Regions from separate parts of the Homo sapiens genome. Here region 1 is linked to region 2. The links are contacts of gene promoters, found by promoter capture Hi-C in human tissues and cell types (Jung and others, 2019). All regions are on one chromosome and are shown on one strand. Each heading gives the region's core, a stretch centred on a gene start or on the middle of the fragment in contact. The rest is flanking DNA. Distances are from core to core; before and after follow the strand shown. Region 1 overlaps VPS53 (VPS53 subunit of GARP complex). Region 2 holds the start of GLOD4 (glyoxalase domain containing 4).

Region 1 (5,226 bases), core at 177-2,676, 81 kb before region 2:
AAGGAAGAGTGCCCAGCTGTTAGTCCACTTCCTGGAATTCCTCTTTCACAGGAAAATGATGTGCTATAATAGCTACTTATGAAATCTCAAAAAATTTAATCACATGATATGAGTTTTGCTTTAAAAAAAAAAAAAGTAAAGCAGTAGTTGGAAGCTACAGCCACATCTAGCCCAGCCCCTGTTTTTTGTAAATAAAGTTTCACTGGAACACAGCCATGCCCGTTCACTTACATATTGCCTGCGGCTGCTCTTAAGCTAACATGGCAGGTAGGCAGTCGTGAAAGACGCTGTACAGCCACAAAGCCTGAAGTATTTACTATCTGGACCTTTACAGGAGAGTCTGCTGACCCATGGTGTACGTGATTGTGACAAATTCACGTAACGAAATACAGCAACAAAAATGAATGAATGCACAACACCATGGATAAACATTTTACTAACGGAATGGGGCACAGAAAAAGCCAGACACAAGGGGACAGAGGATATGATTTCACTAACATAATTCTCCTGTTAGAAGCTAGGACAGTGGTTATCTCTGGGGGAAGGTAGTGACAGTGAACAGGCAAGGAAAGGCCTTCTGAAGATTTTTTTAAATGTTTTATTTCTTGATCTGGGTGGCAGTTACATGGCTATGTTCATTTTGTGAAACTTCATCAAGTTGTACCCTTAAGATTTGTGTACTCCTCTGTATTATGTTATACTTCAATAAATACACAAATTTATTTTTTATTATATAGATCCACTAGAAAAAAGTCTGGAAGGATAGATAGGAGTAATTGTAATGTATTAGTAGTTGCAGCATTAGTAGCTATAATCTATCAACTACGTATTGCAATATGAAAAGAAGTGATTTCAAATTTTTCTTCTTGGGCCGGGTGCAGTGGCTCACGCCTGTAATCCCAGCACTTTGGGAGGCCAAGGCAGGCGGATCACCTGAGGTCAGGAGTTTGAGACCAGCCAGACCGTCATGGCGAAACCCCATCTCTACTAAAAATACAAAAAAAAAAAAATTAGGCAGGCTTGGTGGTGGGCACCTGTTGTCCCAACTACTCAAGAGGCTGCGGCAGGAGAATCGCTTGAACCCGGGAGGCAGAGGTTGCAGTGAGCTGAGAATGTGCCATTGCACTCCAGCCTGGGCAACAAGAGCAAAACTCTGTCTCAAAAAAAAATATTTTCTTCTTTTTGTCTGTATTTTATAATTATTGACTATGCACTACTACTGTGATTATAATAAGCTTATTATAACAACAATTAAAACAAAGGGATCACTTCTGACCTTAGAGATGAGAAAATGTGAGGAAATGGTGCCCCCTAATGGACAAGAGGAGGTACAATTTTATAGTACTATTTTAATTCAAGTTTTCAAAATACAATTTAATAAATCCTCTTCCTCTCTCCCTTAACAAATATTTTATCTCAGAAGGAATTAGGGATATTGTAGGAAATATGCTTATAAATTGCTTCTGGCTACCTCTGATGGGAGGAGGAGGCCAGGTGCCTTCCAGGAGCAGGTCTGGTAAGAGAAACAGGCCATGAGTGTTTGAGATGTCAGACTGGGTTGTCACAGCTCATCCTACTGTTCTGACCAAGCCAACAGTTACTCAGAATTTTCAGAAATCCAAGAACAGCTTGAGGTAAAAATGAATCTCAGGCTGGACGTGATGGCTCATGCCTGTAATCCCAGCACTTTGGGAGGCTAAGGTGGGAGGATCACTTAAATCCAGGAATTCAAGACCAGCCCAGACAATACAGTGAGATCCCATCTCTCCAAAAAATAAAAAAAAGTTAGCCAGGCATGGTGGCATGTGCTTGCAGTCCCAGGTACTCAGGAGGCTGAGGTGGGAGGATCACCTGAGCCCAGAAGGTCGAGGCTGCAGTAAGTCATGTTTGCACCACTGCACTCCAGCCTGGGCTAAACAGCCCTGTCTCAAAAAAAAAGAAAAACGAATCTCAGAAAAATTACTTTAATTTATATATAATTATATATATACATATATTTTTGTGTGTGATGGAGACTAGCTCTGTCACCAGGCTGGAGTGCAATGGCGCGATCTCGGCTCACTGCAACCTCCGACTCCCTGGTTCAAGCGATTCTCCTGCCTCAGCCTCCCGAGTAGCTGGGATTACAGGCACATGCCACCACGCCCAGCTAATTTTTGTATTTTTAGTAGAGACGGGGTTTCACCACGTTGGCCAGGATGGTCTCGATCTCTTGACCTCGTGATCTGCCCGCCTTGGCCTCCCAAAGTGCTAGGATTACAGGTATGAGCCACCGCGCCTGGCCAAGAGGAAAACATTTCTAATATCATTTTATGATAGCAAGTATTTTTATAATATCAAATAGCCTACCTTTAAGATGGCGGCTCACTCTGTCACCAAGGCTGGAGTGCAGTGGTGCAATCATAGCTCACTGTAACCTCAAACTCCTGGGCTCAAGCAATCCTCCCACCCCAGCCTCCTGAGTGGCTAGGAACAAAAAGGTACATGCACTGAGCCTGGCTAATTTTATTATTTTGTTATAAACACAGGGTCTTGCTATGCTGTCCAAGCTGATCTTGAATTCCTGGCTTCAAGCAATGCTCCCGCCTTGGCCTCCCAAAGCACTGGGATTACAGGCATGAGGCAGTGCACCCGGCCCTATAATATCATTTTTATAATATAATGAATGTAGCTTTTAAAAAGAACAGAGGCCGGGTGTGGAGGCTTATGTCTGTCCTTTGGGAGGCTGAGGTGGGTGGACTGCTAGAGCCCAAGAGTTAGAGACCAACCTGGACAACGTGGTGAAACTCCGTCTCTACAAAAAAATAGAAAAATTAGCCGGGTATGGTAGCACACGCCTGTAGTACAATCTGCTTATTAGGCTGAGGAAAGAAGACTGATTGAGTCTGTAAATTCCAGGGCACAGTGAGCTGTGATGGAGCCACTGAACTGTAGCCTGGGTGATGGGTGACAATCTCAAAAAGAAAAAATAAATAAAAATAAAATAAAAATAGGCTGGGCGCGGTGGCTCATGCCTGTAATCCCAGCACTTTGAGGCCGAGGTGGGCGGATCACAAGGTCAGGAGTTCGAGACCAGCCAGGCCAATATGGTGAAACCCCGTCTCTACTAAAAATACAAAAAAAAATTAGCCGGGCGTGGTGGCAGGTGCCTGTAATCCCAGCTACTCGGGAGGCTGAGGCAGGAGAACTGCTTGAACCCAGGAAGCAGAGGTTGCGGTGAGCCGAGATCGCGCCACTGCACTCCAGCCTGGATAACAGAAGGAGACTCTGTCTCAATAAATAAATAAATAGAAGAGAAAGAAATATCCTAAAGTTACACTATTTGATAGTCAGGTGGCCTTTGGGTGACTGTTTTCCCTTCATTTCCAGGCTTTCTGCTGGAGGGGAAAGGGAAAGGCTGCTAGCATTTAATGTGGATCTCCTAGGCAACAATTGCAGGCACTTCACAGAAATTATTTCCCTTAATCCCCTCTGCCAGGCGAGGCACACTTTTCTCCTCTTCAACGTTAAGATTGGGAACTATGGAGGCGGAGGCCGGGCATGGTGGCTCATGCCTGTAATCCCAACACTTTGGGAGGCCAAGGTACGTGGGTTTCCTAAGCTCAGCAGTTCAAGACCAGTCTCTGGGCAACCTGGCAAAACCCTGTCTCTACCAAAAATACAAAAAACTACCTGGGCTTGCTGGTGCACACCTGTGGTCCCAGCTACTCAGGAGGCTGAGGTGGGAGGATCGCTTGAGCCTGGGAGGCAGAGGTTGCAGCGAGCCGAGATCACACCACTGCATTCCAACCTAGGTGACAGAGTGGGAACCCACCTCAAATAAAAAACAGATGGGAAACGTGCTCTGCAGGACAGGTGCTTTGCCTGAAGCTGCAGAGATCCCACCTCAAATAAAAAACAGATGGGAAACGTGCTCTGCAGGACAGGTGCTTTGCCTGAAGCTGCAGAGATCCTCTTTCTTACTCTAGCATCTACCTCTAACGCAATGATTCTTGACCTAATTTTCCTGCACCCCAAGACACCGGACAGCTATGACACACCCACTCTCATCAGTTAGTTCAGTGTCTGGCTATGGCAGTGATCCTCACCAGGGTCGAGGGCCTCTCCTGGAGTTGGGGAAAAGCCCTGTGGGAATCCACATTGGCTGGGCAGAGGGGTTTATCCTGCTTTGAGAATCACTCATCTCGTTTAGTTATAATGTGGTTGTACAGTTTTGTTTACTTTTTAAATGTTTTAGTTATTGCAAAATATTTCCTGATTCTAATGGTAATTCTTGACAATTACAGAAAATAGGTAGTCATCTGCACACCCAGGACAGTATGACCACAATCAGAATTTTTGCGTATTGCCTTCTACTACGAAACTGTATAGCTGTACAAAAATAAACTGGGATGATAAGCAATTTGGCATCTTTTTTTTTTTTTTTTAAGGCAGGATCTCATTCTGTCACCCAGGCTGCAGTGCAGTGGCACGATCTCAGCTGACTGCAACTTCCACCTCCCAGGCTCAAGCGATCCTCCTGCCTCAGTGATCCACCCGCCTTGGTCTCCCAAAGTGCTGGGATTAGAGAATACAGCCATGAGCTGGATCTTGGGTTTTTTTTTCTCTTAACAATACAGATCCAGAGCATTTTTGGGGTCACCAGAAACTCTTTAGAAACATCCCCATATAACTCTTTTCTCAAAGTTCCTAATTATGTTAGTTTTGTATTAGTTTTCCATAAATTTCATTTAGTTTCCTCTAATCAAACTTTCAAATGATTATCTTCAGTTTACTATTAGGAGGCTAAAACGATTTTCTAGACCACTGCGACCAAACCTGGCTACTATTTAAACCCCACAGGCACTCTGCTGCATGGAAAATCCCAAGCTCCTCTCAGGCCTGGCTGGGTGAAATAGTAAGAGGCATCCATTCCAGGCCACTCAACAGGCTCCAGACAACCGCAGACACACAAGTACTTCCACTCAACAGAAACATATTCTCACCCTCCTCCTCACAGTAACACTAAATTCACTCTGGAAATACTGAAATCTACTTTAAACAATCTAAACTCATAATGTACAAGTGTTTACTGGAGGTCCATGAGGTATACAGATGGTTTTTGCCCAATATCTGACAATAGTTAAATTTCAAGCTATGCCACTACTTTCTACTACCTTTTCATTAAGATCCACAGGAATCTGGCTTAGATTTCACTCAGATGACCTGCTAAGTGAAACTCTGAGA
Region 2 (5,643 bases), core at 2,277-4,776:
GATTTAGAATAAATTGTGAAGTGTTGCTAGTACTGCTCACAGCGTCTTTAGCACAGACTAAAATGTCAAAACACAAACATTATCATTTATAAGCTTTACTTGTAAAAGAACAAAAGCAAATGAGCTTTACACTTCTCCCAGGATAGAAGCAGTGGAAGGACGAACAGCTTGACACCAAGGGTCAGGCTACCAAATCAGTTGTGAAATCTATTTAGATTGGTAAGCAGTGCTATGCAGTGGGAAAAAGTGTGGCCTTCAGCATTAAAGAAGTCTGATTTGGGCCGGGCACAGTGACTCACGCCTATAATACCAGCACTTTGGGAGATCAAGGTGGGTGGACTGCCTGAGGTCAGGAGTTCAAGATCAACCTGGCAAACATAGTGAAACCCCGTCTCAACTAAAAATACAAAAATTAGCCAGGCGTGGTGGCGTGTGCTTGTGATCCCAGCTACTCAGGAGGTTGAGGCAGGAGAATCACTTGGACCATGAGATGGAGGTTGCAGTGAGCCGAGATCGTGCCCCTGCACTACAGCCTGGGTGACAAGAGCAAAATTCCATCTCAAATTAAAAAAAAAAAAAAAAAAAAAAAAAAAAAGATGGGCATCGTGGCTCACGCCTGTAATCCCAGCACTTTGGGAGGCTGAGGTGGGCAGATCACCTGAGGTCGGGAGTTCGAGACCAGCCTAGCCAACACAGTGAAACCCCATCTCTACTAAAAATATAAAAAATACAAAATTAGCCAGGCATGGTGGTGGGCGCTTGTAATCCCAGCTACTCAGGAGGCTGAGGTAGGAGAATTGCTTGAACACGGGAGGCAGAGGTTGCAATGAGCTGAGATTGCACCATTACACTCCAGCCTGGGTGACAAGAGCAAAACTCAAACTCAAAAAAAAAAAAAAGTCTGATTTGGAATTCTGTCATTTAGTAGTTGTGTAACTCTGAGCAAATTAGAATCTGAGTCTCAGTCTCCTAACATGTGATGGGAATGGATGTTATGAAAGCATCTCACAGAACCCTGCACACAGCGGGCTCTCAACGTGTTAGCTTTAGCCCTCCTTTTTGATTCCCACGGCTCCTGCCAGTTGAAGTTCCCAACGCTTCGCTCAGACTATTAAAAATCATCCTTATTGGCCGGGCGCGGTGGCTCACGCCTGTAATCCCAGCACTTTGGGAGGCCGAGGTGGGTGGATCATGAGGTCAGGAGATCGAGACCATCCTGGCTAACACAGTAAAACCCCATCTCTACTAAAAATACAAAAAATAAGCAGGGCGTGGTGGCGGGCGCCTGTAGTACCAGCTACTCGGGAGGCTGAGGCAGGAGAATGGTGTGAACCCAGGAGGCGGAGCTTGCAGTGAGCCGAGATTGCGCCACTGCACTCCAGCCTGGGCGAAAGAGCGAGACTCCGTCTCAACATAAAAAAAATAAAAAATAAAAAATAAAAAAATCCTTATTGATATCCTTCCTTAATAACACCAAAAAAGCACATGCCTAAAGCACAAAGCACTGATCCCATCACCACCCTGTTTAAGAACATAAGTGAGCTCCCATCTTACTGCAGCATAAAATCCAAATTCTTTAGCATAGCATTCAAGATACTATTAGAAGCAATGCCGACCTGTCCATCCTGATATCCCATCTCCTTAACTTCAACTAAGCAACCTCAACTAAAGGCACATAAAACCAGCGGCTTCGCAAACATGTGCCATCTCCGCACTGGCTCTTCAGTTTTACTATGTAGCTCCTCCTCTCATCTACCTGTGGATATCCTATCTTTAGACGTCAACTCGAATCCTGGCTAACACGGTGAAACCCCGTCTCTACTAAAAATATTTTTAAAAATTAGCCGGGTGTTGTGGTACGCGCCTGTGGTCCCAGCTACTCGGGAGGCTGAGGCAGGAGAATGGTGTGAACCCGGGAGGCTGAGCTTACAGTGAGCCGAGATCGCGCCACTGCACTCCAGCCTGGCGACAGAGCAAGACTCCACCTCAAAAAAAAAAAAAAAAAAAAAAGTCAACTCGAATACAAGGTCTACATGAATTATTTCCTCATCACCCAGGTTGGAAAACCGCTCCTTCTTTTGTATTTTTATAATAGTGGCTAACACTTATATAATCTACTATTACCGATATGTTAAATACTATACATATAATAAGGTGTTGAATCTTTTTTTTTTTTTTTTTTTTGAGACGGAGTTTTGCTTTCGTCATCCAGGCTGGAACACAATGGTGCGATCTCGGCTCACTGCAACCTCCGCCTCCCAGATACAGGCGATTCTCTTGCCTCAGCCTCCCGAGTAGCTGGGATTACAGGCGTGTGCCACCATGCCCGGCTAATTTTTGTATTTTTAGTAGAGACAGGGTTTCACCATGTTGGCCAGGCTGGTGTCCAACTCCTGACCTCCAGTGATCCACCCGCCTTGGCCTCCCAAAGTGCTGAGATTACAGGCGTGGGCCACCGCGCCGGCACGTGTTTAATCTTTGCAACAACCTTTTGATCGACGAGGAAATACTAACAAGGGACAGCTCTGTGGTTTCTGCTATCGAAAGTTTGGTGGTTTTTCACTATCAAATTCTGACTTCCATTACCATCATCTACGTACAAATCCAGTTCCAACTCCCACCCCAACCCAGGCCATGAGCTCTAATGGAGGATATATATCAGGGTCATTTGCACCTTTGTTGCCAAAACTCAACGTAGTACCCTGAAAATAGCAGATATTTTAAAAATGACCTGACGAATTCAGATCCCCGTCTATTGCACCGTCTATACACTAAACCGCGCTCTTGCACCTTTCAAGTCTTCCTTAGTGGTGTGTTCCCTACCTCCCTGGCTTATCAAAGGAGGTCCCCAAAACCCAGTTCCCCAACCAACTGAATCCTGCAAATAACAGCTCCTCAGGACCCGAGACAGACCGCTTCTGGGTGCTGTTGAAAAGCAGATGGGTTGAGAGTTGGAGCATATATTCAGAGACTGAGTATCCGAAACGGACTATTCAGACCAGCCTTGCTAGAAGCAGAACTCTGAATACGCTGATTTTATCTACATCAAAGGCTCCAAACCGGAAAACACAAATATTAACTAGAAAGCATTATATAACATTTTATTTACCGTCTTTTCCGGTAGACGGTAAGCTCCACAAGGGCGGGGCTCAATAAACGTTTACGAGTGGCTTAAATGAAAGGACGTGCGTGGGCACACCGCGGGGACTAATCGTGTTAGGCCCTTCTCCAAGGCCTATGATCCCCAACGGCAACTCGCCACGCTCCTGAAGCTGAACACCGCGCAGGGCCTAAGGTCGGACACCCTCCGGCTTAGGTTCACGACACACCCATTTTCCCCTCCCTCCGCCAGGGCCGGCTCGGGCGCCGGTTCCAGCCTCGCGCGCCAGCCCCTGTCGGCCCCGGCCTGCACCTTCATCCCCAGGACGTCCCGATAGAAACGCGCCGTCTGGAAGCGGTTTCCCACTTTGAATACGAAGTGCAGAGCTCTGCGAGCAGCCATGATTCCCGCCGCACGCAGCCGTCACGCGCACCGTACAGCCCAGTCCACGAAGGGCGCCACGGGCCGTGACGTCACTAGCCGCCGACGGCGCGCTTTCGTGACGCAGCCCGGGTCTCAGGGAACATGGCGGCGCTGGTGAGACCCGCGAGGTTTGTCGTGCGACCGTTGCTGCAGGTGGTCCAGGCTTGGGACCTTGACGCGAGGCGCTGGGTCCGGGCGCTGCGGCGGAGCCCAGTGAAAGTGGTGTTTCCTTCCGGAGAGGTGGTGGAACAGAAGCGCGCTCCTGGGAAGCAGCCCCGCAAGGCACCATCTGAGGCCAGTGCCCAGGAGCAACGAGAGAAACAACCGCTCGAGGAGTCCGCATCCCGCGCTCCCAGCACCTGGGAAGAGTCTGGGCTTCGCTACGATAAAGCTTATCCCGGGGACAGGAGGCTGAGGTGATGTGGTTCTTGAGCCTGTCGAATGTTCTCGTTTCCCTTCCCGTCGCACAGCGGAACCTTAACCTCCTTCCGATGGAGGACTTCTTCCAGTACAGCCCGCTGGTTTTTGTATTATGCACAGAGGGCCGAATAAGCGTCTTTGGAATTAGCTTCTGTTTCTCCTTAGCTCTTTGTTGTTGTTTTTGTTTCACCATGTTAGCCAGGCTGATCTGGAACTCCTGACCTCAGGTGATCCGCCCGCCTCGGCCTCCCAATGTGCTGGGATTACAGGCGTGAGCCACCGCGCCCGGCCCTCTCCGTAGCTCTTTATTTCTGTTACAACTAAGCGTGTCTCAGTAACAAGGATGTTGATAGTTACCTGTTTTTTTTTTTTATTTCCATCTACAGCAGTGTAATGACAATAGTAAAGTCCAGGCCATTTCGGGAAAAACAAGGGAAGATCCTGCTGGAAGGTCGCAGGCTCATTTCAGACGCTCTCAAGGCTGGAGCTGTGCCAAAAATGTTCTTCTTTAGCCGTCTAGAATACCTAAAGGAGTTGCCAGTCGATAAGCTGAAAGGTGTCAGCCTCATTAAGGTGAAATTTGAGGATATCAAGGATTGGTCCGACCTCGTAACGCCACAAGGAATAATGGGTTAGTGATTACCCAGTGTATCTTTTTTTTTTTTTGTCTTGTTCTGTCACCCAGGCTGGAGTGCAATGGCGCGATCTCGGCCCACTGCAACCTCCGCCTCTCGGGTTCAAGGGATTCTCTTGCCTCAGCCTCCGCAGTAGCTGGGATTACAGGCGTCTGCCACCATGCCCGGGTGATTTTTGTATTTTTAGTAGAGGTGGGGTTTCACCATGTTGGCCAGGCTGACGTCGAACTTGTGACCTCAGGTGATCCTCCTGCCTCGGCCTCCCAAAGTGCTGGGATTACAGGCGTGAGCCACCATGCCTGGCCTTACACAGTGTATCTTAAGGTGTGGAGACCTAGGATTAATTTCTCATACTTGTCTTAGGACAGCAGCATTGAAATGAAATTCAAAATGTTACAATTAGAAAAATATAATTCTCAAACCTGTGTATCTTAGAGTATTTTCAATGGAAATTGAAACCCGTTTTTCACTATCATTTGTGTTGTGGCTCTTTATGGTCTCTAGGAAGAACCACTATTCCTCAAACCTTCTATTTTTTAGATTACTTCTTCAACTTTCTATGTCAGATTAAAAATTAAGAAAGCGTTTACTGAAAGATTGAGCCCTTCATTTTTGCAAAACCTCTGCCAATGTGGTGATAACTGTCAATAAACTGCTTATTCCAGAAGCAGATCTAAGAAGCGAGGTACAAGCCACAATTTACTGCCCCGTTTAGCCCAATAAACAGAGAACCTTGTCTTCTAGTCTGTTCCTTCATTTGGCTGAATCTGACTTAACCTTATGTAACTCCGATGTTGATTAGCAGTTACAAAGTCTTTGGTCTAAATATGAGAAGATAAGTTTTTCATACGTTTTTGACATGGGAGTTTTAAGATATGAAAACTGAATCCTTGAACTGCTGAGAGAGGAGATTCTGGGGAACCATCTCTTGTCTCTGTAACCCAGTGAGTCACAGGGATCTGTGCCTCTGCACTCAGAGCTCTTAGATCCTAGGATGGGGACTTGGATTACTAAAGTACCTAGAATTACTCATGCTAAGTAACCATATTCTCACTAGCTACAGCC

Evidence for each region. Contacts are between HindIII fragments. The study calls those that stand out against the background at their distance.
Region 1: a contact is called between a fragment that was not itself captured here and the fragment with the promoter of GLOD4 in region 2, in 3 of the 25 tissues and cell types used here (hippocampus, liver and thymus).

The regions. Positions count from the first base shown.
Region 1 is chr17:699,392-704,617 of GRCh38, forward strand. The region is part of intron 2 of VPS53 (VPS53 subunit of GARP complex); the gene reads right to left. Among named protein-coding and RNA genes, the nearest start is that of VPS53, 13 kb to the right of the region's middle. The HindIII fragment of the contact is 8,041 bases long and covers 1-5,226 here.
Region 2 is chr17:778,754-784,396 of GRCh38, forward strand. GLOD4 (glyoxalase domain containing 4) reads right to left here and starts at 3,527. Exons shown (of 9, transcript NM_016080.4): 1 at 3,413-3,527. The coding sequence starts at 3,502. MRM3 (mitochondrial rRNA methyltransferase 3) reads left to right here and starts at 3,600. Exons shown (of 4, transcript NM_018146.4): 1 at 3,600-3,939; 2 at 4,330-4,574. The coding sequence starts at 3,626. RefSeq lists enhancers at 2,458-2,557, 3,558-3,907, 3,579-4,127. The HindIII fragment of the contact is 5,823 bases long and covers 1-5,167 here.